Linked DNA regions of Homo sapiens: regions 1, 2, 3, 4, 6 and 7 are each linked to region 5. The links are contacts of gene promoters, found by promoter capture Hi-C in blood cells and fetal thymus (Javierre and others, 2016). All regions are on one chromosome and are shown on one strand. Each heading gives the region's core, a stretch centred on a gene start or on the middle of the fragment in contact. The rest is flanking DNA. Distances are from core to core; before and after follow the strand shown.

What was found. The method cuts DNA at HindIII sites, captures the fragments that hold promoters and counts their contacts. A CHiCAGO score of 5 or more calls a contact.
Region 1: a contact is called between a fragment that was not itself captured here and the fragment with the promoter of PKP4-AS1 in region 5, in 2 of 17 cell types (M2 macrophages and erythroblasts). The highest score is 7.1, in M2 macrophages.
Region 2: a fragment that was not itself captured here is called in contact with the fragment with the promoter of PKP4-AS1 in region 5 in 1 of 17 cell types (monocytes); the score reaches 5.1 in monocytes.
Region 3: a fragment that was not itself captured here is called in contact with the fragment with the promoter of PKP4-AS1 in region 5 in 14 of 17 cell types (naive CD4 T cells, M2 macrophages, M0 macrophages and 11 more); the score reaches 9.5 in naive CD4 T cells.
Region 4: a fragment that was not itself captured here is called in contact with the fragment with the promoter of PKP4-AS1 in region 5 in 3 of 17 cell types (endothelial precursors, M2 macrophages and non-activated CD4 T cells); the score reaches 8.7 in endothelial precursors.
Region 6: a fragment that was not itself captured here is called in contact with the fragment with the promoter of PKP4-AS1 in region 5 in 3 of 17 cell types (non-activated CD4 T cells, M1 macrophages and megakaryocytes); the score reaches 6.3 in non-activated CD4 T cells.
Region 7: a fragment that was not itself captured here is called in contact with the fragment with the promoter of PKP4-AS1 in region 5 in 1 of 17 cell types (total B cells); the score reaches 6.9 in total B cells.

The regions. Positions count from the first base shown.
Region 1 is chr2:157,774,450-157,777,519 of GRCh38, forward strand. The region is part of intron 5 of ACVR1 (activin A receptor type 1); the gene reads right to left. Among named protein-coding and RNA genes, the nearest start is that of ACVR1, 100 kb to the right of the region's middle. The HindIII fragment of the contact is 1,141 bases long and covers 778-1,918 here.
Region 2 is chr2:157,989,217-157,992,197 of GRCh38, forward strand. No RefSeq gene overlaps it. Among named protein-coding and RNA genes, the nearest start is that of UPP2, 110 kb to the right of the region's middle. The HindIII fragment of the contact is 1,311 bases long and covers 838-2,148 here.
Region 3 is chr2:158,049,826-158,052,699 of GRCh38, forward strand. It overlaps a transcript of UPP2 not described here. Among named protein-coding and RNA genes, the nearest start is that of UPP2, 51 kb to the right of the region's middle. The HindIII fragment of the contact is 2,422 bases long and covers 159-2,580 here.
Region 4 is chr2:158,188,986-158,192,178 of GRCh38, forward strand. All of the region lies in intron 11 of CCDC148 (coiled-coil domain containing 148), which reads right to left. The region is part of intron 3 of CCDC148-AS1 (CCDC148 antisense RNA 1); the gene reads left to right. Among named protein-coding and RNA genes, the nearest start is that of CCDC148-AS1, 24 kb to the left of the region's middle. RefSeq lists an enhancer at 2,391-2,550. The HindIII fragment of the contact is 4,296 bases long and covers 1-3,193 here.
Region 5 is chr2:158,733,734-158,736,785 of GRCh38, forward strand. PKP4-AS1 (PKP4 antisense RNA 1) reads right to left here and starts at 1,269. Exons shown (of 4, transcript NR_135242.1): 1 at 995-1,269. The HindIII fragment of the contact is 4,247 bases long and covers 1-3,052 here.
Region 6 is chr2:158,069,936-158,073,174 of GRCh38, forward strand. It overlaps a transcript of UPP2 not described here. Among named protein-coding and RNA genes, the nearest start is that of UPP2, 30 kb to the right of the region's middle. The HindIII fragment of the contact is 4,494 bases long and covers 1-3,239 here.
Region 7 is chr2:158,006,216-158,009,142 of GRCh38, forward strand. It overlaps a transcript of UPP2 not described here. Among named protein-coding and RNA genes, the nearest start is that of UPP2, 94 kb to the right of the region's middle. The HindIII fragment of the contact is 3,223 bases long and covers 1-2,927 here.

The DNA.
Region 1 (3,070 bases), core at 98-2,597, 960 kb before region 5:
CACCTCCCGGGTTCAAGTGATTCTCCTGCCTCAGCCTCCCAAGTAGCTGGGGTTACAGGCACGCGCCACCACGCCCGGCTAATTTTGTATTTTTAGTAGAGACGGGGTTTCTCCATGTTGGTCAGGCTGGTCTCAAACTCCTGACCTCAGGTGATCTGCCTGCCTTGGCCTCCCAAAGCACTGGGATTACAGGCATGAGCCACCACGCCTGGCCAGGAAAAGTTTTATTTCTTCGGAATACTAGAAGCTAGCACTTCACCTAATATATGATAGGTTTTCCCGAAGGATAAGTAGTCCTTTCTTATACACAGAGTTTCCAAATAAAATATATAATGAAAGAAGCTGAGCAGACAAAGTTGAAGGTGTAAATCAGAAAGCCCAAGAAGCAGATATGATCTCAAGGAAAGCAGTAGAGAGAATAGCAGGTGGAACAGAAAAGGGTGGGGGGGGTCCTTTCAACTTCAAGAACTGGGTATAATTTACATATTTTGCTATTCTCACTAAGTATCTGTCAAATGATTCACTTTAGTTGCCATACCAACTAAGGAACTCTAATTAGGAACAAACAAACTAGGAATAAGGAACAAACAACTCTAATGTGATTTGTAACGAAAAGACTCCAATGACCATGTGGATCATTAAATTGGTAAGCGCAGGCAGCAACGGGCTGCCTGGATGGAGGTTTCCTTTTAGGCAGGTGAGGAGCAAAACTATATCAACACCTACTTATCATTTCTTAATGTGAATCACTCACAAATCAGAAAAGAAAACAAATAAAGCTTTCATTGAAAACATAAAACCAGTGCCCCAAGTCAATGTCTACAAATGAAGGTGTTGGCAAAAAGATTCCCAGTTAGTTCATTGATAAGGTTTTCCTTCTTACTCTCAGCATAAGCCAAGAAGCAGGTATCAGGCATAGATTATCTGTAATAAACAATATTGTGCCGATGGGTGATAAAGGTAGAGTTGCAGTAATATTGACTTAATATTCCCCAAAGCTCATCCTTTCCCAAACATTTTGGCTGGCCTACTAAAGCAATACATTGATTTGTGTGAATTTCATCTTCTTTCACTTCTTCTGAGCACCACTGTGAAGTACTGTTGATCGGCAAAATTACCAAAAGCTGAGCATCCAACGGAAGAAATTTAGAACCCTTAAAAACCACAAAAGGGATAATCAACAAGAAAATGAGTGTAGATGAAGCAGAGTTTCATATCTCCCTAACCATTTTCTCTCTTGCGGTTCTTTTTGCTCCTTATTCATTCATTCTTTTTCGAGAAGAATAATTCTGAAAATTAAACTAATGTGTTATTTTTTCCATAATGTATGATCCTGCTTCTAAACCCTGTTCACAGACCTAAGGAAAGAAAAATAAAAAATCAACCCAAGACTAACAAACGTATATCCCAACTCTCAGATGCCAAGCCTTCTTTTTGTTCTTTTCTTTTCTTTAGTTCAAGACAGAGTTTCACTATATTGCCCAGGCTGGTCTCTAACCCCTGGTCTCAAGTGATCTTCCCCCTTGGGCTCCCAAAGTGCTGGGACTGCAGGCATGAGCCACCATGCATGGCCAAGGCTTGTTTTTCAATGTAGACGTGCTGTTTAGTAAGGGCATGCTTTGTTGAAACATACAAATGAGCATATTGCTTAAATAAGCAAGTATGTAGACCAATAATGACAACTTGTTTTAAATAGTGTTCTTTACTGTGTTATTATATCATGATACACTGTCACATGACATGGTTGAGTTTAAAGGACTATTTTGGCATATGCTCCATTCCTCTCTCAAAATTCTAAAAGCCATTTAAACAGTAATTTATACCAGATATTCCTATTATTGCCCTTGGTAATTAGTTATGTTAGCAGCTCTGAGGAATGAAGTTCTAACTAACCTATTTTAGAATCTTGCTTTGCTAAAGCTTTGTCAGGATTCATCCTCACATCTTCTTGCTACTAACTCAATAAACTCATTTAATTTTCCTTAAAGCTTGAAATAGACTTCTAAGTATATATCTAACAAAAAAAATTGTATTTCTCTACTTTTTGAAATGAAATGTCCTTATACTGCATTCTCTTTCCCCAGTTCCACTGTACCACAGTTTAAACAGTAGGTAAATGGAAGCTACAGAAGGTTACTTCCCCCTTTTACATACCAAAAAGTGGCCCAGTGATGGATGGGGCAGGCAGTAGAATGGGATGTTTCCCAGCCCATATCAGGCACTACCAAATGTCTGTGACAACCTGCCACAGGTGGGTCCTGCAATTGTCCAGGTGTAGCATCTGTGCTACCCAGATGGTCACTGGTGAGGGGAAGTCTTCTCCAGCATAAGGGGAGCTGCAGGGCAAGTGTAACTGCAGAACTATCAGACACTTTGAAGCTTGCTGTCTAGCAGAACAAGACTTACTGCAAAATGATTTCAAATACACATGGGCAATGGCATTAAGTAAAACTGAATCACATTAGAAAGTTATTACTTTGATTGTCTTTCAATTAATCGGATTGTGACAAGGAGTCTCAAATTGGTATTGGCATGTCTCTTGCACTCACTTAACACCCACAAATCTCAAATTTTTCAGAGTAGGCATCAGACTCAGCATAATATCCATGCAGAATGTTATTATTTTTTCTTTTGCACTTTATGATAACCTTCTATTTAGAGCAAGTGATACCCTTTCCCCACTTAAAGTTCAAAGCGTCTTTAAAATGAACACTTGGTAAGCAATTTTAAAAGGTAAATAGAAGGAGATAGTCATTTTTTAATGTGATTTTATCATTTAAAAATATGCAAAAGAATAATTTTTTAATGTATAAATACAATAGTTTCTAACACTGTGCAGTCCAGCGGGTTAATCACTAGCCACACATTGCCATGAGCAAGTAAACTGTGGCTGGTGTGAATTGATATATGCTATAGGTGTAAAATACACACAAGATTTTGAAAATTTACTTCAAAAGCAAAAAGAATGTAAAATTTACATTAATAATTTTTTAATCGATTATACGTTGAAATGACAAAGATGGTATGTATTTGGTTGAATATCTGTTAAAATTAAATCTACTTTTACGAA
Region 2 (2,981 bases), core at 243-2,742, 740 kb before region 5:
ATGTAACCTGAATACTGAATAGTATTTGCGTTATCATGTAACTAAGGCAAAAATAAAATACCGTGCATTCTCACATGCCTTGTGCTTTCTCTAGAAACAATTAAATTTCCCATCTAGAATCTCCCTTTGCTTATCTCAATAGACACAGTGCCATCTACTGAAAATAAAGCACCAATAGCCATGGTACCCTGAGGGATTCCCAGGAGAGCCCCCCTCTCTGTGGGCTCCCTGTCTCACCCACCTCCCAGATGGACTGGAGGGAGTAGGCGGAATCCACAGGCTGTTCTCCTGTCACAAACTGTAATGCATCTGTTCCCTGGTGCTTTCCGTGAGCAGCGAGAGTAAGATGTTCCTGAAGGGACCTAGGGAGCCTGGCAAGGCACTTACAGTGTAAGTGAAGGCTCTTTTAGGCTACCCTCTTGCCTTCAACCAAGTATAAACTGAAGCTATTTTATATAGTGGAGGCATAGTTTTTATATTCAATCATAACAAGGATGAATGACATGTCTTCCTTTGGGTAATTAGGAGATGTTTCTTTCCACACAATAGTGTAGCAATGTGTTTAAGTACGTTTACCCTTCTGTGAAATTTTTAATGGGTACAATGGATAAGAGATTAATAACAGAATCCTGGACCATTATCAAGTCAGGTATGTCTTTGGGAAATGTGGATAACCTAGGTTGCTGTGAAATTCACTTAGGCGAAAGTCCACATTTTAGTTCATTATGTCCTCTCCAGGTGGCAATGTCTCTTGGTCTCATACATGGAGAAATGGAGAAACAAAAGGAGACCGTTTCTGATTTAGCCACTACAATTAATGATAAAATAGAAAATGGAAGCTTTAAAATACACAGCCCTCTGCAGGACATACTCAACTCTTGCCCTCACCACCTCTCACTTTACCATTCCTCCTCCCAAGGAATCTTGGCTCAGCATGTCAGGAAGCCCTTCAGGGACCGTTTATAATTTAAAGCTCTGGTTTGAACTGATTCTGATTTGGCTTTTGGTAGTCAGATCTGGCATCTCTTCCATTTGCCCCTCCAAATCTGGCCCCATTTTCTCTGTTGCATTTACTGCTCATTCTTTCTGCTGTCTTTTTATTAGATTTTCCAAAGCAAAACTCCCTGCAGTGAAGTCTGTGGTCTGGTAATTTATCACAGATATTCTTGAAATTGCCTCATTAAAAGGGGCATTCGAAGCTGAAACCTAAGCGTCTGTTACCACGGTAACCACCGGCAACTATTTAGAACAGCCTGCTTAAACCAGAGGGGTAGAGGATTGCTGTTGGCAGAGATTGAAGGTAGGCAACTAAACTCTACTGGGCAGGGGAAAAGGCCTATAGATTCTGATGTGGAATTCTCAACCTCAAGTCAGATATCCTTCTACATAAGACAAAATAAGTTGGTGCCATGCTCCTGAGTTCTCTCCTGCATGTAGTCTAGGAAATTTGAAAATTGAAAATTCTTTTCACCATCAGATTACCAAGGGAGTTTGAATTAAAAATGTATACCTCAAAATTACTTGATCATGCTTTGCATGTTCTTGAGCCAGTCATTTGCCTCTCAGTGCCTCAAGTTCTTTGTACATTTTTTTAAAAAGTGGCCACCATGAACTCTATATGTCTTAGTCTGTTTGTGCTGCCATAACAAAATGCCTTAGGCTGGGTAACTTATAAAGAAAAGAAATTGGTTTCTTACAATTATGGAAGCTGAGAAGCCCAAGATCAAGGTGCTAGCATTAATGTTTGGAGAGCTGCTCTCTGCTCCCAAGATGGTGCCTTGTTGTTGTGAAATCTGCAATATCACGGGGTGGGAGGTGGAAGAACAAGAGAGCCAAACTTCACTTACTCAAGGCCTTTTAAGAGGGTACCTAACATCATTCTTGAGGGCAGAGCCCTCATGATTTAATCACCTCCCAAAGGCCCCACCTCTTAACACCATCACCTTGAGAACTAAGTTTCAGTATACAAATTTTGGGGGTATACACACATTCAGACCATAGCACTATGTCAGCAGGTTATGTGAATTATCAGTGAGGCAATAAAAGTGAAGCCTTTTTGTTAACAAGGTGCTACATTCAAGTAGACTAAAACTCACATTTTGAATCTATAACTGTTCTCCAGAATGTCTTATGGATTGCCATTAGGCAAGCTTCTTCTCTCAAAACAGAAACAAAATCAAAAACAATCACAATTCCTCCAATAGAGAGTAGTGTCAAAATAACCTTATTTATTGCCTTTCCAAGCCAGGATTCTCCATACTTTCCATTATCCACAGGCCTGTAAAAGAGCTAACAGTGCCTGTTAGGCATATCTTGAAGTACTACAAAGGTGGTTATAAGAAAAATACATTTGGTAAATAATGAAGATTACAAAAAGTACAAATGACATTCCTTTGTCCTGTTTTCTTGGTTTCCCAGTGCAATTTTGGATAAAATATTAAAGAGACAATTAATCAGGAGTGCTGAGCACTGTATGAAAATAGAGAGAGATGCCAGGTCAGGCAATACATATGGGTAATTTAGAAAGATCTATATTTTTAAAAGTAGTTAGATGCTTGGGAGTATTTTGTATGTACTGTTTTCTTAGTAGAAATATAGTGCATTAAATCAACAGGATTAGACAAATATGACAGATGGAAAAACACATCTTGGTGAGCAAAGTATGGAGGGATGAAGACATGATAAAGAAGAAAAGACTGCAGAGTGTTGATGTTCTTGTGACAAGAAGAAGGGGGTATGGCCTGGACTGGAGTCGTGGTAGGAATGGTTATGGAAGACAGTAACAACAATAACTAGTGTCATATGAAAAGGGATTGAGTTATGGATATAAGTGGATGCATTAAATCTGCAAGATCTAGAATTTCTTCAGCACTGCACTCCTTTTGTTGTTTTTCATACTGTCACAACTGCATTAATCAACTATTAGTGAATTTTTGACGACTCATTCATGTACCTACGAAGGAACAGGGGTAAGCAGAGCT
Region 3 (2,874 bases), core at 120-2,619, 680 kb before region 5:
TAGTTTCTTATGATCATACATTAGAATTCAAAATATATTTCTTTAATCCTGTTGACAATTTTTCACTTGGAAAAGACTTGAGCAAAATAGCTCTTATGTGATTTCACTTGAACCAATAGGCCCCATTACCATTTGAAATAAAAATCCCCTTGAATTTAAGCTTTTTTTCTTCACTGTGGTGATTCATTTTTTATTTCTAATGGTTAATCTTGATTCCTGACATTTTATTTACCTTTTGTTAGTTCTCAAAATATTAAGAGTCATAGGCAACAACAGAAAGTGGAGCGTTTTATGCTTAATTCCTGATACAGAAATTTAGCAGAGTGTTTGGCTAAAGAGTTTCATGAGAAATAAACAGACACCTTTATGAACTGAGGTTTTCCATGAGCACATTCCCACATTGACCATCTCCTGGAGACAGGTAACATATCATTCTCTTCTGCATTTTTAAGAAAGTGTGAGAGGCATTAGCAACTATTTGCTAAAAGCACAGAAGCAAAGACTCTAAGTGAAGACTGAGAAGTAAACAGTTTGGCTCCAATGTATTTACATGGATTATTTAGTTTTTTTTTTTTAAATGTACTAGTCTATCTTATCCTTATTCTCTAATAAGGTAAGAGATGAAAAATTGCACTAATTATAACCATCAAATTTCAGTTTCTAAAAGAGACCTTAGAATAAGAAGGATCTAGCTAGGTGTGATGATATACACCTGTAGTCCAAGCTACTTAGGAGGCTGAGGCGGGAAGATCCCTTGAGCCTGGAAGTTCCAGGCCAGTGTGGATAACATAGCAAGACCCTGTCTCAAAAAAAGAAAAAAGAGTAAGATGGATCTGGCATTTACTGAATGCACAAAGAAAATAAAAATTCTATTATTCCAGGAATTTTTTAAAAATGAGTTTTTATTTGCTGCTGTCAAATGTGATTATGGAATTTGAAACAGGGTGGAACTCGAAAGCAGATAATGTAACTGAATATGAACTATTGAAATGCACTGAGGTAGTTAGGAAGGATGAAAAAGACCTACTGTTTGATAGCATAACAGAGTGACTATAGTCAATAATAATTGGACATTTAAAAATAACTAAAAGAGTATAATTGGACTGTTTGTAACTCAAAGGATTGCTTGAGGGCATGGATACACCATTCTCCATGATGTGACTAATTCACAGAGCATGCCTGTATCAAAACATCTCAGGTACCCCAGAAATATATATACATGTACCCCATAAATATATATATATGCACACACATAAACATTATATAAATAAATATATCTACTATGCACCCATAAAAATTAAAAAAAAATCATTGAGGGTCACTCTAGGAATATGTGTGTGTGTGTGTGTGTGTGTGTGTGTGTGTGTGTGTGTATGTGTGTATAATATCTTTCATTTCATAACAACGCAGTCTGTCAAACTTCCTTTTTTTATCCCATGGAATTTATAAATTGGGAGGAGCATTTTGCATACTTCATAATTAAATTAACTTTGATAGTCATTTAAATCTTTCAGTGAGATCCTGGAAAAAGAAGAGGCTAGAGGGACACAATCTGACAGTGCTGTGCTGAGGGTATATTGAGGAATATCTGTTTTTTAGAATCTGAACTACCAGAGGAAATGACTAAAATGAATGAACAAATATTACTTGGAGTGAAGATAAATAACAACTACATGGTCAGGGGCGGTGGCTCACGCCTGTAATCCCAGCACTTCGAGAGGCTTAGGCGGCCAGATCACGAGGTCAGGAGTTCAAGACCAGCCTGGCCAACATAGCAAAACCCCATCTCTACTAAAAGTACAAAAATTAGCTGGGTGTGGTGGCGGGCACCTGTAATCCCAGCTACTCAGGAGGCTGAGACAGGAGAATCGCTTGAACCCAGGAGGCGGAGGTTGCAGTGAGCCGAGTTCATGCCACTGCACTCCAGCCCGGGCAACAGGGCAAGACTCCACCTCAACAACAACAACAACAACAACAAAACAAAACAACTACACTTTGCCAAACACAATGCTATTCATATACAACATTTCACTGAGTCTTCACCAGACCTTGAGAGTAGGGGCTCTCATTCCCATTCTGTGGAGGGATGCTGCCCAGCTGGCCTGGCACACATATCCTCTGCTGGGAAATCCAATGCTGTCTGTCCTAACCCATGAGGCCTTCCCAGTAAATACCCTGCTACCCACAGTGGATAATTCTTCCAGCTACAAAAATATTTAGGTAGGGGTTGCCAGAATTAGCAAATAAAAATAGAGAACACCCTTCATATGTCCCAAATATTATGTGGGACATACTTAGACTAAAAAAATTTGTTGTTTATCTGACAGTCAAATTCAACTGGTGTCCTGTATTTTATCTGGTAACTCTAGGTAAGGGAATAATGGGAACATGTCACCTGAAGGAAAAAGTAGGTAAGGAATTGGAACCCAACAATGAGTCTAAGGTCCAATAAACAGTGAGGAATGTTCCTAAGGAACAAAAGATGTACCTGACTTATTCTATCAAATGAAGCTGTAGTAGAAAGTATGATGGTGGCGATATCAAGATGTGGGTAAACTGGAAAGAAGTATACTTGGGGTAAGCTTTCAATAAACAGGGACACTATCGAGAGTTACTCTTACCTAGGAAGGAGTCAGTTATTATTCCTTGGAGTAAGGCCTACCATTCTATCCCTAGTGGCTAATGCCCTGGACACCAACAGTAGCCATTCATTATATGGGTATTGAATGACTGAATTGGGAGAACAAACTTAGGAGTGACATTGGTTGCCATATATTAGCTCTGTCACTTTGATAAGGTTACTTAACATCTTTGGGCGTCAATGTCTTTATTTGTAGAATAGAATTAATATTATTGCCTTTTGCCCAATAAATG
Region 4 (3,193 bases), core at 520-3,019, 540 kb before region 5:
GAGAGATGCAATCATTAATCACCAGAGAGATGCAAAACAAAACCACAATGAGATACCATCTCACACAGGTCAGAATGGCTATAATTAAAAAGTAAAAAACAAAAATAACAGATGTTGACAAGGTTGAAGAGAAAGGGAACACTTATACATTGTTGGTAGGAATGTGTACTCAGTACACAGGTACTGAGTAAAGAGTCAGAAAGAGAGTGAGAGGAATCTGAAGATACCATTTGAGTCACTGAGGCAAGACTCATGCCCTGGATTCCCATTCTTGTAAATCAATTCATTCCCTTTTCTGCCTAAGCTAGTTTGAGTTAGGTTTTGTCAGTTGCTTCTGAAGATTCCTGACTAGCAGACACATCTTCTATGTGTAAGGAAATCTGTGTCTTTTTGTCCTCTATAACAAGAGGACATGTATCTAGCTGTTCCAAAGGGTAATCAGTTCTTTTCCCAAACTGATGGTCCATGGAATGTTAATTTCCCACAGGAAGTTAACACGTATACTATAAAAATGTGTTCAAGTAAGTTTGGGAAATACTAAGATAAACAAAGTAAAATAAATTTATTTATGGCAGGAGCTTTCAGAATATTTATGATAATATGGTGGAGTGCATTATGAATCTCTAAAAGGAGGACTTAGTGTGCTTATTGCTCAGTTATCTGATAACAGAAACCTTTCTCAATAGACCCAGTTTGGGAAATAATATTTACCTTTCCATAAGCAAGCAAGAATGGTCAAGTAAACAAACTGAATGGCATAGACACATAGACACTTCCTGCTTTGTATTATAGTTTCTGTTTTCATGTCTTGTCTACTAGACTGTATACTTCCTGAGTCTAGTGGCTATGACTTAATCTCCTGTGTATCCCCAAGAACTAGCAGAGTGCCTAAAACACAGAAGATATGCACCAATAAATGAAAGAAACATAGAATAAATGATGAGTGAAATTAAAAAGTGATGGAAAGCATTCTATTGAATATCCTAAGCTGTAGGTAAATAACAGGACACAGGAGTTGGCAAAATAAAAATGTAAGAATAAATTAAATATACATTATTCCTTTAAGCCTGTCTAATTAGTCAGTGAGTATGTCTTTGTAAGATATTTAATCATTTGAGAAGCTGGAAGAGAAATTGAATTACTGGAGAACAAATCTAGTGTCAGTTCCTTTTGAGAATAAGGAGCCATGAATGCTAAAAGCCAAACTGAGGCATGACATCCACGACCATGATACAGACTTGCTAGGATCATGATTTTGGAGGGACAGCACAGGCAGAAATAATGTTGGCTTTCAGAAATTATTTATCATGAACTGAAATTTAAAAGGCCACCCAGGCAGATCAGCATTTATTTGCCCAATTGCCTCTAATACATTCATTTATTCAGCACATTTATACAAAGTGCCATATATGTAAATGTATAACAATCATATTTCTGCAAAACAAACCAAAAACCCAGAGCAATTAGAAACACCTATCAAGTAGACAAAGGCAGAGCTTACATCTGGATTTTGAATACTTAGAGGCACCTGTCACTTGCCATCATATGAACTCACTAACAAAAGACATCTGCCATTTGATACTAATTGGGTAATTTGCACAGTGACTCTTGAACTCACAAATGGTTTATGGTAGATATAGTTTAACTCCACAATTAATATGTATTGCATTTAAAAAATCTTCATGAGGCCATATAATCATTTTAACAGTTGTGTAAGAAGGGAACTTTTGTTGAGGGTTTACCTCATAACATTGGAACCTTTCTTTAAATTCTTATGCTAATTTTGTTTGTAAAGCAAAATAATGCTTTTAAAAGTAAGAAAATGATAAGCATGGGTGATTAGTTTTATTGGAGAGGTTTTTTTCAGCTGAAAAATTCTCATAAGACACATAATTCCTGATGCCCAAGGTTTTCATAAATGTGTTTTCAGAATCACAAATACTAAAAGAGGCATTGCTTTAGTATTGAGCTTTAAAAAGACATGCTAATAAAATATACCACCGTGTTATCAAGTCATAATATTTCGGTCTAGTTCTATCTATTTTTAACTTCGGCTACTTATTGTGAGAACTGATTTTAATTGGTCCTCGTTTTTCTGGAGATAGACATCTGTATGATTATGATGATGGAACTGGGTTCCCTTCTTTAGCAGCACTGCTGAACCGAGAGGGCACTGAGACCACAAAAGAAACCACAGTCTTCTCCCTCAAACAAATGATTTAAGTAAATAAGATTAATAAAACATGGCTTCTCTAATGCTGTTTGAAAAATCCCCATTACATTCTCTTTCTTCCTTCCCAGATCTCTCAGAACTTCTGTAGAAAGCAAACATCAAAAGGACCAAAGGTTTTTGTAGTGATTCAGCCGCCCACAGCAAAGAAGTAAACCTTGATTTTCTTTCAGCCTAGGAAATGATCAGCGAAGAGGCTTCACAAACAGCCTCTTTAACATTTGAGGTTAAAAAAGAAAGTCAGTGGAGCAGAACAGTTATTTTCACAAACGCCTTCGGGGTTTTTTCTTCTACTTTTTAAGTAACCCTTCTAATCCCCCCAAGTAAAATATTTTCATTAGCTAAAGTTTTGGCTAGGCATTTTAAACATGCTTTAAAAAAACAAATGATAAAATATATTTATGTATTGGGTGTGACTTTTTCTAGTGCTTTTTTCCTTTGGCTTTCTCAAATGCTGATTTCCTCTGGCTATAGAGTTTCAACTAGCTTCTTTGGTGACTCTGCCAAGTCACACCTACCTTAGCAGTTTCCGTTTTGTCTCAGAATTCAGCTTTTGGAATTGAGCTCCGGAATCACTGTTCCTTTTTTTTCTTTGGAGACAGACAACTCTACAAAGCAGTTCACCCTAGAGTTCTGCCAAGTGAACCCTGGTGTTTGGATTTCAGGAGGAGAGCCCATCTCCAGTGCCTACTTGGGGAACTCTGTTACCTACCCTGTAGTTTTTTCAGGTGAGATGCCAAAGGTTATGTTCAAGAAAGGCAAAGAGAGAGAGATGTGTTGCTTTCATCAACACTCAGACAATAAAGTCAAAGATAGTAAAATTAATTAAATTAACAGGGAACCAACTTTACTGGAAAAGATAAAGCAATAAACTGGACAGAGATTCAGATGAACTTACAAATAATATGTAGATCACTGATAGCCCCCTCTTTTAAAGGAAACATGTATATATCTTCTCGCCAG
Region 5 (3,052 bases), core at 19-2,518:
TATGAAAGAGCTCTTTCAATATGGAAAACATTGTATCAGGAAAGAAAGCATTGTGTCATAGTTTAATTTGCAACTATTTTTTTCCTTAACTATATAGAAAATGAACATATCTTATAATAAAAGGCATCTCAGATTTAATGAAATATATATGGAAGTTGCCCATACTTTGCTATAATTGCCTTTTGCCTTTTCTCTTAGAGTTGAAATTTCAGTAACCATTGTCTTCACTCTGGTGATTACTAACATCAAGATATTTTACTTAAAAAACAAAATTTTGAGTTTGTTGCTTTTGCTTTTTTTTTTTCCTTTCCTTGAGACAGAGTCTCGCTTTATCACCCAGGCTGGAGTGCAGTGGAGTGATCTCGGCTCACTGTAACCTCCGCCTGCTGGATTCAAGCAATTCTTCTGCCTCAGCCTCCTGAGTAGCTGGAATTACAGGCACATGCCACCACGCCCAGCTAATTTTTGTATTTTTAATAGAGATGGGGTGGGGTGGGGCGGGGCGGGGCGGGGGGAGGGTCACCATGTTGGCCAGGCTGGTCTCGAACTCCTGACCTCAAGTGATCCGCCAGCCTTGGCCTCCCAAAGTGCTGGGATTACAGGCGTGAGCCACCACGCCCGGCCATTGCTTTTGCTTTTAAACTTTATGTTTTTAAGGGCTATGTACTCAATGCCATTAATCTACTAAGAAAAGAACAGTTTGTCTGCTCTAGCCGCCGTACTTTAGAATTTAGAAAATTAAATAAGAAAGGAAAAAATGTCACGCAAGAGGTGGAAATGATACAGCAAGACTGCCGTCCAGACAGACTTTAACAGTGATATATCCTCTTTTGCTATTTCAAACAATGGCAATCACATTTTAAAAAACCGAATAGCTGCTTTCACAATGAGCTCAACCTGAGCTCATTTAATCCTGAGAAACCTGTGTAACAGGTAGTACTATCTTCTTTTTCACAAATAAAGAGAGCGAGGTCAGTGAAATGAAATAACTCACCCAAGAAGAGAAGTGTTGTCAGTGGTGGGCCCAGAATTCAAAGGAGGCATCCCCCAGCCCCCTAAGCCAGCGTCTCTGCAGTGGCAGCTCCTCCATACACACTGGAGCCTGAAGCCTGGATTGGCCCTCTGGCGACAGATTATTTGAAAATCATTCCTCAGTTTTAGTGAACAATCCATACATTGTCTTCGTGGACTTGAAGGTCTTCAGTGGGCTGCCTCCTGAGGCTGCCTTTTGCTGGGTAATACCTTAGGATGTGAGAGCCGCTTGCCTTTAAATATGGAACCAGCTGCTACGTGCTCTTGACCACGGCAAAGCTGGCAGGACCTCAGATTTCCTTATGCGCAAAATGTCCCCATTTTTTGCAGAGTTTCTTGGAGCGTCCTTCTAAGGTTGAGCTCAGCTCACTTCACTAGGTTGTCATTTAAGAGCATATTGTGGGATGGACCTCATGCCTGACCCTGGGGTGCCATCTCACTGCCAACCTTTGACCCCGCTTTATGGCCTCACTGAGAACCTTCTCCCCCAAGATTCTCACTCCTTTAAATAACTCAGAATGCTAGTCTAAAAAGTTATCCCTCTTCCTTCTCATTAACTGCATTAGTGGTTTTCCATCTTTGCCAACATTGGAATCACCTGGGGAGCATTACAAAAATCTCCAGGCTCGGACCACACCTCCTGTCAATTAAATCAGAAGCTGTGGACGTGGGATCCAGGAACAGTATTTTTGAAACTGTGCAGGTGATTTCAATATGCAACCAAGTTTGTGAGACAGTACATCAGGTTAGTTGTCCACGAGCTTTACTTTTATAAACCTTTCCAATTAAGTTTTTCACTTTAAGTTAAAAGCCCTTCAGTATTAGACCAGGTGGGGTGGCTCATGCCTGTAGTCCCAGCACTTTGGGAGGCTGAGTGGGCAGACCACCTGAGGTCAGGAGTTCAAGACCAGTGACCAGCCTGACCAACATGGCAACCCCATCTCTACCAAAAATACAAAAATTAACCCTGCATGGTGGTGCCTGCCTCTAATCCCAGCTACTCTGGAGGCTGAGGCAGGAGAATCACTTGAACCCAGGAGGTAGAGGTTGCAGTGAGCCGAGATGGTGCCACTGCACCCCAGCCTGGGCAAAAGAGCGAGACTATGCCTGAAAAAAAAAAAAAAAAGAAAAGCTCTTCCGTATTCTTCCCTCACCTGCATAACCACTTTTCAAAAACACCTTTTGTTTTTATTACAAAAAGAACACACATTTATTGTGCAACCTTTAGTTTTGCAAATACAGCTAAGCAAAGAGAAGGAATTACAAATCACCAGTGATCTTACTATGAGGCAATAATTCCTGCTAATGTGTTCATATGGATTTCTCTAGCATCTTTTCCTTGTTTCTATCATGTGCATGTGTATTTTATTGTACATATGGTTTTGTAGCCTCCTTTTCTCATCTGAACGCCTTTTCGATTGAACTTCTCAACCTCCTGTCTTTTCCTCCTCTGACCTGACCTCTGTAACTTTAATAAGTCAGTTTTTCTTGGGCCTTTCAACTTGACCTTCTGTGAATTCTGAAGCCTCCTTTTAACCTAATGGCCAATTCAGTTCACAAGTGCTAAACCTGTTCCTTCTGGAGTCACTGTCTTTCCAAATGGCTCTACCATCTGGCTGCCCAACTGCTCAAGTCAAATGTGTCTGAGGTCATCCTAGATTCCTTGGACACATTACACTGCATTTCTAACCAACTATCAAAGCATGTCTATTGTGCCTCTTAAATATTTTTTGAATCCTTATTCATCTCTCCATCCACATTTGCAACTTCCATCCAGGGCCCCATTACATTTTGCCTCCATTGTCACAGCCTCCTAACTAGCCTCTTTATCCCCAGCCTTGCTTCCCTCTAGACCACTCCCCCACAACATCTGGGTGATATCACAAAGTTATTACCTTTGAGATAAAGTCTACACTCCTTCCTAAGGTTTTCAAAGCCGATATGAGCCAGCATCTGCTTAAATAATGCCCACTCTATCCTTCTCCCATGACTCCACCACACACCTGGTCCATGATGCTTC
Region 6 (3,239 bases), core at 528-3,027, 660 kb before region 5:
TCTCTGGGGTCCCTTTTATAAGGGCTTTAATCTCAATCATGAGGGCTCCACTCTGACCTAATCACCCCCCAAAGGCCTCACCAAACAAGGTCTGGATCTCAACCTTGAGTGCAGGGAGCTTTTTCTTGGGTGTTCTAGCTCAGCTCTAGGGATAGTGGCTCCTTGTATCTGCTATTTTTATATTATTTAGCACTCTCTTCACTTCTTACTAGCCAATCTTTTGCTACTGTAGTCTCTCCCTATAATTAACAACTCTTTATATTAAACTTTCCCTTGTCCAAATTACCGTGTGGACTCTGTCTCATGAATGAACCCAAACTGAGCTACCCCCAAGCATTCAGCAGCTTTTCCATTTATGTTGGTGTCATTCAGATAGGACATCTCTACCCATTCTAGACAAGCCATCTCTACCTGTCCCTACCCAGAAATCAGAGACGTGTTTCTATCTATGTACAGGTCTCTTGATTCAAGTAAAGTGTTAATTATCCAACCTCATTTAATAGATAACTGAGAACAAGAAAAGCTGTATGGTTTCCTTATGATCACATAGCCAGTTAATTATGGAGCTGGGATCAGAACCCTGGTATTCTGACTCCTAACCCAATGTTCTTTCCTCTCTGCCATGCTGGCATTTTTCACTAAAAATATTAATTAAGCCACTGTTTATGGGGGGCGGAGCAAGGTGGCTAAACAGAAGCCTCCACTGACTGCCCCCAAAGGAACACAAAATTTTAACAACTAACTACAAACAAAAATGCACTGTCATAAGAACCAAAAGTCAGGTGAGGAGTCACAGTACCTGGATTTAACTTTATATCATTGAAAGAGGCACTGAAGAGGGTAGGACACAGTCTTGAATCACTGATGCCACCTCTTCCCTATTCCCCAGAGCTGCTACATGGCATGGAGAGGGAATCTGAGCACTTTAGGGAGGGAGAGCACAGTGACTGTAGGACTTGATATTGAACTCAGTGCTGTTCTGCCATGGCAGAGAGCAAAGCTGAGCTGGGCTCAGCCATTGCCTGCCCACAGAGAGATCATTTGGATCAGCCTTAGCCGGAGGGGGATCATCCATCCCAGTGGTTGGGACTTGAGTTTCTCTGCAAGCCTCATCACCAAGGGCTAAAGTGCTCTGGAGTACTAGGTAAAATTAAAAGGCAGTCAGGGACACAAATACTGCATTTCCTAGGCAAGTCCTAATGCTGGGCTAGGATTAGAGCCAGTGGACTAGGGCGGCACGTGACCTAGGGAGACATCAGCTGGGGTGGCTAAGGGAGTGCAAGCATCATCCCTCCCACAACCCCAGGCAGTGCAACTCGCAGCAACAAAAGTGACTCCTTCCAGCACGGTGGCTCATGCCTGTAATCCTAGCACTTTGGGAGGCTGAGGCGGATCACTTAAGGTCAGGAGTACAAGACCAGCCTGGCCAACATGGTGAAACCCTGTCTCTACTAAAAATACAAATATTAGCTGGGCATGGTGGCACATGCCTGTAATCCCAGCTACTGGAGAGGCTGAGGCAGGAGAATTGCTTGAACCCGGGAGGTGGAGGTTGCAGTGAACCTAGATCATGGTATTGCATTCCAGCCTGGGCAAAGAAGCGAGATTCTGTCTCAAAAAAAAAAAAAAAAAAAAAAAAAAAAGTGACTACTTCCTTCTATTTAAGGAGAAGAAAGCTAAGAGGAAAGTGGACTTTGGCTTGTATCTTGACTACCAGTTCAGCCACAATAAGATAGGACACTGGGCAGAGTTATGAGTCCCCCAGACAACATTTCTATATACACCCTGGACTAGAAGGGAACCCACTGCCTTGAGAAGAACCAAGTCCTGGCAGGATTCATCATCTACTGACTAAAGAGCCCTTCAGCCCCAAATAACTAAAAGTGACACTAAGGTAGTATGCAGTGGGTCTTGGGTGAGAGTGTGAGATATGCTGGTTACAGGTGAGACCCAGCACGTTCCCAGCTGCAGCGACTACTATGAAAGACTCCTTCTGCTTGAGAAAAGCAGAGGGAAAAGTAAAAGGAACTTTGTCTTACACCTTAGGTACGTATTTGGCTACAGTAGAGTAGAATATCAGGTGGGCTCTTGGGGACCCTGAGTCTAGGCCTTGGTTCTTGGACAGCTTTTCTGGACCTGCCCTGGGCCAGAGGAGAGCCCACTGCCCTGAAGTATGAGTCACAGGCCTAGCAGCATTCCCCACAAGCTGACTGAAGAGCCATTCGGCTTTACGTGAATATTGGTGGTGGCATGGCAGAACTCCCTGCAAGCCAGTGGTGGTGGTGGCCACTGGGAGAGCCTCCTCTGCCAGTGGAAAAGGGAGGGAAGAACAGGAAAGACTTTGTTTTGTGGTTTGAGGGCCAGCTTAACCACAGCAGAATAAAACATCAGGTAGATTTCTAGGTTTTTTTACTCCAATCTCTGGCTTCTAGACAGCATCTCTGTACCTGCCAAGGGTCTGGGGAAACTTGCTGCCCTAACAGAAAAGACACAAACCTGACTATCTTCCCATCTGCAGACTGTAGAACCCTAGGGCCTTGAGTGAACACAGGCAGTAGCCAAATAGTGGTTACAGTGGGCCTTAGGCAATACCCAGTGGTGTGCTGGCTTCAGGTCCAACCCAGCACCGTCCCAGTGGTGGTGGCCACAGGGCTCCTGGCATCACTCCAACCTCAGCTCTGGGCAGCTCAGCACACAGAGAGAAAGAGACAGACAGACAGACAGACAGACAGACAGACAGACTCCATTTATTTGGGAGAAAATCAGGGAAGAGAACAAGAATTCTGCCTGGCAATTCAGAGAATTCTTCTAGATTTTATCCAAGAACACCAAGGTGGTAACTCAATGAGTCTATAAGAACCACAGCATTATTGATCATGGGACACAAGTCCCTTCAAATACCTGGAAAGCCTTTCCAAGAAAGATGGGCACAAACAAGCCCAGACTGTGTAGACTACAATGAGTACCTAAATTTTCAATGCCCAGGCACTGATGAACACCCCCAAGTATCAAGACCATCCAGGAAAACTTGACTTCACCAAACTAAATAAGGTACCATGGACCAATCCTGGAAAAACAGAGATATGTGATCTTTCAGACAGAGAATTCAAAATAGCTGTTTTGAGGAAGCTCAAAGAAATTCAAGGTAACAAAGAGAAGGAATTCAGAATTCCATCAGATAAATTTAACAAAGAGATTGAACTAATTAAAAAGAATTGAGCTGAAACTCTGGAGCTGAA
Region 7 (2,927 bases), core at 74-2,573, 730 kb before region 5:
TTGGGAGGACGAGGCGGGCAGATCACGAGGTCAGGAGATCAAGACCATCCTGGCTAACACGGTGAAACCCCGTGTTATTTAGTCTTTACTAAGAATATAAAAAATTAGCCGGGCGTGGTGGTGGGCGCCTGTAGTCCCAGCTACTCTGGAGGCTGAGGCAGGAGAATGGCGTGAACAAGGGAGGCGGAGCCTCGGCTCTTGCAATGAGCCGAGATCGTACCGCTGCACTCCAGCCTGGGTGAAAGAGCGAGACTCCGTCTCAAAAAAAAAAAAAAAAAAAAAAAGTCCATAATTCCCAATATGAAGCAGAACACTCAACATCTTCCAGACTGCAGTGTCTGCACTCAGATGCATGGAAACTTCACCATCTTCTCCAGAAACAAGGGAGAGATACTTACCTCACATTTTAAAAAATAAAGGGACCATTCACTTGAATTAAAAAAATAAAAGCAACTTCCAAGACTCACTTGTTTTGGCAAACAAGCTAACAAACCATCTCCAGTGGGCGTCTTCCTAGGCATACTCGAGGAAGCCTTTCAATGGAATGAGCTTCTCCTTCCTGCTCTTACTCAAAGGCACTTGTCAGATCTGAAATGACACCAGATTTGCTTTCCAGAGCAGCTGTTACAAATGACTGGATTTAGAGCAAGGTATCTTTAAGACAGGGTCAGGAAAGGTGAACATTCCAAGGGGCATATTTCAGTGTGCAAGATTTTGTGTACCAGAAGGCCCTTGGTTCAATGCAAAGCCTAGTGAGGAGATTCCACACCATCCTAGTTCCCTTTGCCTTGTTTCCTTTGCCTCCCTGACTTTGACTCTGTGAGGTACCCATTTGTATCCTTCTCTGAGACTGGCATTCACCTTCCCTTTGCCAGCCTCTCTGGCAGCAGCACTCAGTAGTAATACTCATATCCTTTGCTCAGCCCTTTCTGTGTACTCATAGGCAGTGTGCTAAGTGCTTGATATGCATCATCTTATAACCCTATAATAATTCTGCGAGGCGGTGCTATCATTATACTCAGTTGACAAGTGAAAAACACCAAGTCGGAGAGACAAAGGTGTTTCCTTTCCCAGAGGTGACACATTTGATAAGGGTCAGAAGTCAGGTTTTCGTGACTTCCAAGCCCAAGCTCTTTCCACTCTGACTTCAGTCTTTTCTTGTTCCCTCTGGCTTGCACTTTCTCTTTTCAGCTCTGCATTCAGCTGACTTCCCCATAACAAATTGATCTTGCCCACTTCTCAGGTGCCCTGAGTGTTCCCTGGCAACCAGCTTGTCTTGAGGGCCTCATCTAACCATGTCATTGTGAAGTGCTCTCTGCTGCCCTGCCTGGCAACTTTTAACACCGGCCAGTTCCTTGTTCCATGCACATTTGCTAAGAGGAGCGTGGGTTTTTCACGTATTTCTCTCTCTCTCTTTTTTTTTTTTTTTTAAGACGGAGTCTTGCTCTGTCGCTCAGACTGGAGTGCAGTGGAGTGATCACTGCAACCTCCACTTCCCAGGTTCAAGCAATTCTCCTGCCTCAGCCTCCTGAGTAGCTGGGATTACAGGCACGCACCACCACATCTGGCTAGAGACAGGGTTTCAACATGTTGGTCAGCTGGTCTTGAACTCCTGACCTCGTGATCCGCCTGCCTTGGACTCCCAAAGTGCTGGGATTACAGGCCTCCCAAAGTGCTGGGATTACAGGAGTGAGTCACCGTGCCTGGCTTTTCATGTATCTCTATTTTCATTAACCAGATGCTTCTGTGTTAACATTTAAATTAAAATAAAAGCAATCAATTTTCAAGCTCAGGATCTAAGAATACATTTAAGGTCTCAAAAATGGATTGAAAAGAATGTAAATTTAACTTGTAATTGGATACATGGAAAGTTAATGGGAAGTAAAGATATTTCAAATTCAGAATCCTTTGAGGCTTTTCCTAGAGATGAGAAATTATGACTTTTAAAAAGACTTTGTGTGTTTTTAATGTATATTTGCTTATAAATATATTCGTTCATGAAACTTTGCCAGAGTGTCTCAGGAATGCCAGTCTAAAATGTAAATTTACTATTTTGAGAAGGTTATTACTTCTTCAGCTTATTAGAAATAAGCCAGTGTGAGATCAATAATTACCTTTTGGAATGCTGAATTATTTACTGTATTTGATTATTTTGTGTTGCAGGAATATAGCAGGTGTTTAGGTAGATGAATTAGAAAGAGTACCTAAATTGCTTTTACCAGTTACAGAGCAGAGTGGAGAGGAATGTTATTTGACTTAGGCTAACCTTGGAATTTTTCTTAAACACACAGTTGTTTGAGGCTTTACTCAATAAAATACTGTACTGGCACAATGAAATGGGTATCCCGTTTCCCTAAAGCTAATGACTTTCTAAAGCACTTGACTTTCCTACTGTAAGATTAGCACTATTATTTCCAGGCCAATCAATAGGCATAACTCCAAGATTAAAAGCAATTTGGATCATTATTCTCTTTTCATTACATATTCATTATTTTCTGTTTGAATAAGACCTGTAATCAGTGTTATTTACCAATCTTTATGGCGAAATTTTAAACTACTGATTGTTTCAGTCTTTGCAGGTATTAAATGCCATTTCAAATATCCTTTCAATAATTTTGTAGTTGCTAATGAAGTCCATTTTCCCAGATTTTTCAGTCCACTGAAAGAACATTGAACCCCCAAGAGTCTTTAAAAGGTATTTGTTGTTTAATTGGTGGCAGCTGTTCCTTAGAAAGTTACCTAAGTATATAAAAGTGCTTTTTCTCCCCTCTTTAATAGCTTTTTATCACCCTTTAAGGGTTATCCTTGAAATACATGCAGACTACATATGATGGTCTCCTGAAATGCTTTGATATTGCAAATTTTAAATATTATAATTCTAACACATGCAAGAAATTATAGGACAGTACCCTTTAATTTTGGATTTA